Regions from separate parts of the Homo sapiens genome. Here region 2 is linked to region 1. Evidence: promoter capture Hi-C in human tissues and cell types (Jung and others, 2019). All regions are on one chromosome and are shown on one strand. Each heading gives the region's core, a stretch centred on a gene start or on the middle of the fragment in contact. The rest is flanking DNA. Distances are from core to core; before and after follow the strand shown. Region 1 holds the start of SPAG6 (sperm associated antigen 6). Region 2 overlaps PIP4K2A (phosphatidylinositol-5-phosphate 4-kinase type 2 alpha).

The links. Contacts are between HindIII fragments. The study calls those that stand out against the background at their distance.
Region 2: a contact is called between a fragment that was not itself captured here and the fragment with the promoter of SPAG6 in region 1, in 1 of the 25 tissues and cell types used here (dorsolateral prefrontal cortex).

What each region holds. Positions count from the first base shown.
Region 1 is chr10:22,344,161-22,346,937 of GRCh38, reverse strand. It overlaps SPAG6 (sperm associated antigen 6), which reads right to left and starts at 1,442. Exons shown (of 11, transcript NM_012443.4): 1 at 1,302-1,442; 2 at 1,120-1,215. The coding sequence starts at 1,326. RefSeq lists enhancers at 597-1,413, 1,374-1,593. The HindIII fragment of the contact is 4,842 bases long and covers 1-2,777 here.
Region 2 is chr10:22,702,669-22,705,445 of GRCh38, reverse strand. The region is part of intron 1 of PIP4K2A (phosphatidylinositol-5-phosphate 4-kinase type 2 alpha); the gene reads left to right. Among named protein-coding and RNA genes, the nearest start is that of PIP4K2A, 11 kb to the left of the region's middle. RefSeq lists an enhancer at 1,011-1,070. The HindIII fragment of the contact is 4,107 bases long and covers 1-2,777 here.

The DNA.
Region 1 (2,777 bases), core at 193-2,692:
GGGAAACTGAGAAAAGGGTACACGGGATCTCTCTGTATTATCCCTTACAGTTGTGAATCTACAATTATTTCAAACTAAAATGCGTTTAGAAGATTATAAAATATACTTTATTGTAAATACATGCCCCCCAATAAAAACACACAAGGAATAAATGCCAAAAATCCTAGTGACAAAACGAAGTATCACATAGGTGCAGTAGTAATTCCCCTCAAAGAAACCCAGAGTAATCATTACACTTAAGTATTCTTGCTGTCAACATGTTAATTGTTTAAATTATGTGTTAGTTTTAAAGATCACATCCTATAAACTGAAGATTTCTCATGACACAGTAGTGATAAAATGCTACCTTACAGTTCAGATGGTGGTAGAATCATCCAAAAAAAAAGAAGAAGAAAGAAGAAAGAAGAAAAGAAGAAGAAGAAGAGGAAGAAGAAGAAGAAAGAAGAAGAAGAAGAAGAAGAAGAAGAAGAAGAAGAAGAAGAAGAAGAAGAAGAAGAAGAAGAAGAACCATTTTCTCTTATCAGTTTATGTTATGAGATAAGAAGATCTCTCTCCCTCCCTCTCCCCCTCTCTCCCCCTCTCACATCTGCAAGAGTCCGGACTGAGGAGTAGAAGGAACGCGCCATAAGGATTTCGCAAAGTCTGGTCTCTACCTACTTGGAATTTCTTGGAAAAGATTCAAGCATATCATTCCCCTTTCACTAAAGCAAGACGAGAAATCACGTCTAAACCACTGGAATTGCTTTGCTGTGAGGAAGTCGAAGGTGATCAAAGGCAGGGTGGCATGCAAAATGGCACTTGGATAAAATGGGTCTCATTAGGGTAGAGTCCCATTCACGTAAAATGACTCCAGGCAATTCCTAGGGCCTCGACTTTCAACCTGACACTTGCCTGTGTGCAATGAAGATGGAAACAGGGACAACGCGCACCTCCCACAACCATCTGGAAGCTTCACCCTCTCGGCCTGACCCCCAAAGACCCGCTGAAAAGAATGGATGCTTTTGCGAACTCCGGTCCCCACACTGCGGCTCCCCAAGAGCTCCACGGGCAGGGCAGCGGGGCGGAGGCGTCGGGGACTCAGTGCGCGGGGGGCGACGGGGGTTCGGGCTCCGGGCTCACCCGCGTTCTGCAGCGTCTCGATGTTTTGGGGTCTAGTCGCCAGCTCCGCCACCATCTGCACGAACTGGGTCCTGGCCTTCTGGTATTGCTCGAACACTGCGGGAGAGAGAGTCGGTGGAGCCCACCGCACCCGGGTCTCCTCGGCGCCAGCTAGTTAGGGCACCTGCCCGCCTCGGCCCTACCTTGCAGCACCTGCCTCTGACTCATGGCGCCCCCGCCGCCGTCTGCCCTCCTCGAGCTCTGCGGGGAAGCCGCTCGGCCTGCGAGTCCACCAAGGGGGCGATCGTGGCGACGACTCGGCCTCCGACGGGAGCCGCTTCTCTGTGTACCCGCGTCTCCCGGGCAACCTACCGGAACCGGAACGCGGCCGTCTTGCTGCAACGGCCAGTCCCGGGCGTGACGTCACGGCCGCGGTGCCTGGGCGCACTGAGCGGGGCGGCGGCGCGAAGACGCCCGAGCTCGAGGACTCGGACTGCTGGGGCTCTCAGCGCGCCAGGCTCGCGGAGCCGCCGGGACATCGCGCGCCGTCGAGTATCCCTGCACTGCCCGGAGGTCGGAGCTCCTTACAAAGCGACCCCAGATTGCCGTGGTATCCTGACTGCGGCGCGGGTCGGGACCAAGCGCCGGGAGAGCCCCACGCGCCAAGGGAGCCTGGTTCGAGGGCAGCCAGACGAGTAAATTGCAGCCCTGGAGTTGTCTGAGCTTCGACGGTCCCGAGAAATCTCACACGTCACATTGTACAATCCGATCAACACATGAATGTCAATGCAACTTAAGTGTTGCATTGACATTTAACACTGCACTGACAGTAAAACACTGATTTAGGAATCCGTGTTTTCTTTTGTAACCCGCTGTTATATACCTGGCATTCCTGGTTTCAAGATTCCTGGAGGAGCATGACAACCATGTTCACACACTTAATTACACTGTATTGAAAGCATTTAATGAGCACTCAGAGACTCAGTGAGGAAAGCAGATGAGGAAAGGATGTGATGAATGTCCTGTCTTCCCTGGCTTTCTCCTAATGACTACTAATTTTGCTGTTTCCTCACTTTTATGTGATTTGTAAATATTTTGTCTTAGTCTTTTAAATTTAGGCTTCGTTATGTTGATGAATGACATCTCCAACAGAAAAAGAGAGAGAACCTTTACCTGGAAAACCAGACTTCCCTATCTTATATAACTTGAACCCTTTACCCAGTTTCTTTTAACAAAATTGAAGTACTTAGTCTATTACTGGTTTCTAGCTTGTCTTTGAAAACTATATACCAGTTGTTTCAATGACAGTTGTCAACTTTAAATGTTCCTCCATCAAAAACTACAATTTCACCAGATGTCAAGTGGATACATAGCCGCAGCTGCTGCTAAGTAGTGCCAAGACAGGAAACCCCTTGATATTTCTTCAACAGAAGGGAGCATGCAAACTTAACTGGTTCTATATTTGGAATGAGTCCTCTATATTTATCTTTGAGATCTCACCCTTCACTGAGCTCTTGATGAAGTCCTGATACTTTGTGGAGCTCCAAATAGTTGGGGAATGGTCCAGCAATCAGAGAGAAGAATAAGTGTGTTTAGTCGGGTCCCTAATACCCCCGAAGGGCAGGTACATGTCTTCTGCTTCTGCAGCTCAAAAGCCAGTGATGGCCACAATCTTTTTA
Region 2 (2,777 bases), core at 191-2,690, 360 kb before region 1:
TTTTTTTTTTTTTTTTTTTAACTGGGGTACTGAATATAATACGTAAAGGGGGTAAAAAAGATCCTGCAGCCAAGAAAATTGAAAACCACAGAGGAACATAAAGGGAGTGTCAGGAGATGGTTGAAAGAGTAGTTTGAGGCCACCTTTGAAGGGCCAAGTGGTTGATGTTTGCCAGAGAAAAGCCAGCAGTTCTGACCAGGGTTACTTTAAAATTTGCCACAAATCTCAAATGACACTCGACCCGGAAGTGTTACTGCCTCCTTTAATATGTTCTCCACTCTCTGAAGTCATTTCTTCCTTTTCACTTCTCCTTGAACTTCACCTAGTGTCCTGTCCCCCACTTCCCCCACCCCGTCCTTCCCTCAGCATATAACCTCATTTAGAAAGCATTGAACAAATAGAAGCCGTCAGCTTCCACTCTTCCCACCATCCCATCTAAATTTTGGACAGCTGGGTCCGTCAGTCTACAGACATGCTGGAGGGGCTGCCCTGCCTGGTTTTGTAGCTGCTAGCTATATATGGCAATTTAAATTTCAGCTAATAAAACTTAAAATTCAGTTTCTCATATCAAGTGCTCACTAGCCACATGTGGTTAGTGGTTACTGGATTGAACAGTGCAGATATAGACGATTCCCACCATTGCAGTGTCTTCCACTGACATGGCTCACCATTCCGGGGCCGCCCATCTTGAAAGCAAAATAAACTACAGTAACAGCAGAAGCTCTCCTTCACCCTTAGTCTCTCATTTTAGTGTCTTCTCGTGTTTTCTGTTCCTTTTTTTTTTTTTTTTTTTTCAGATGAGGTCTTGCTTTTTGGCCTGGGCTGGAGTGCATGGTGCAATCATGGCTCACTGCTGCCTCAAACTCCTGGTCTCAAGCAGTCCTGCTTCAGACTCCCTAAGTGCTGGGATTATACATGTGAGCTACCACACCTGCCCTGTTCCTTTTCATAGCAGGAGTGAAAAGCCTTGTCTAAAGCTGAGGTCTCCTATTTCTATAGAGACACCGTACCTGGCAACCGTCAACTTACCTGCGATGATCTCCTTAACTTACCCCAATCTAGCTTTCACCTCCAGCACACCTAGGAAACTGCTCAAGTCAGCATCACTGGCAGTGCTAACATTTTCAAATGCAGGGGGCTCCTTTTTTTTTGTCTCTTGTTTTCCTTCTGCTTCACTAGCCACTCCTTAGGTGCAGGCTCCTCTTTTGCTCAGTCTGGAAATGTTGGAATGCCCCAGGCCTGTGTCCAGGATCATCTTCTACAATTACATTTACTTTACCTACATGATTTCATTTAGTCTCATGGCTTTTTATACCATTTTACAGTCATGATTGAGAAATTTTTAACTTCAGCTCTAACTTTCCTCTTGGGCTCTATATGCAGTTTCTTACCAGGTATCTTCACATGAATAACTAATAGACATCTCAGATGTCCCAAGCAGGCCTCTTGATTTCCTCCCTGCACTCTGCCCCGTCCCCTGTCATAACTTAAACTGGCCTCTTCCCGTCTCAGAAAATGGACCACCATAGACCCAGGTGCTCAAGCTTAAACGTAGGGAGCAACCTTGATTATGCTTTTTTCTCCCCACTCCTTCTCCACATCCAATTTTTGAGTCCCGAATCCACATGCTTTCTATTTGAATCTTCTTTCTCAGGAACACTGTGGTAGCCTCCTGTTTGGTCTCCCGGCATTCAGTTTTGCCCTGTTTCAGTCCACCTTGTCTGCAGCAGTGGCAGAGGAATCTTGCTAAACTGTAGATGATTTCATGTCATGTCCTCAGTTAAACCTTCCAAAGGCTTTACATTGCATTTAGAATAAAATCCAAACCTTTTCTGACCTGCAGGATCTTACTGGCCTGGGCCCCACTTTCCTCCTTGCCCTCATCCCATAACACCCTCTTCATGATTCCTATGTTCCAGCTGCCCTGCGCTTTTTCTGTTCCTAAAGGCAAGCTCAGAGCAGCCACAGTTCTTCAGTCTTTATTTTTCTCTTCGTCGGGAATGTTTTTCCCTCTTTTATTTATTTATTTTTTTATTTGAGACAAGGTCTCGCTCTGTTACCTGGGCTGGAGTGCAGTGGCATGGTCATAGCTCACTGCAGCCTTGAAGTCCTGGGCTCAAGCAATCCTCCTGCCTCAGCCTCCTATGTAGCTGGGACTACAGGTGTGCACCACCATGCCTGGATAATTTTTATAATTTTTGTAAGAGATGGGGGGTCTCGCTGTGTTGCCCAGGCTGGTCTTCAACTCTTGGCCTCAAGTAATCCTCCTGCCTCAGCCTCCCTAGGTGCTGGGATTAGAGGCATGAACCACCATGCCCAGCCTGCCCTCAGATCTTTGGATGGTTGGCTCCTATTAGTTATTTTAGTCTCTTAGCTAAGGGGTTGCCTTCTCAGATGGCCTCTCTGACCTCCTAAGCTAAGGGAGCCCCTCCACTATCATACTGTTATTTTCTCTGTGACACTTAACACTGTTTGAAACTGAGTTGTGTACATTTTTATTGCTTATCTCCCTCAACTAGAACAATAAGTTTCATAGCAACTGAGACTTTTTCCTATTTACTAGGTGTATCCCTGCATCTAGAACAGTGTGTTTAGATAGTAGGTGCTCAGTACATATTGTTGAATGAATGAGTGGGGCTGGGATTCTAAACCGTAGGCCATTAGTTCTCAGGTGGTATACCATGAGGCCTCCCATATTCAATTTTCATAAACATAGAAAGTTGACTTTTGTTATAATCAAGCATAGAGCATTTTAGAGCATTTTGCTGAGCGGGTTG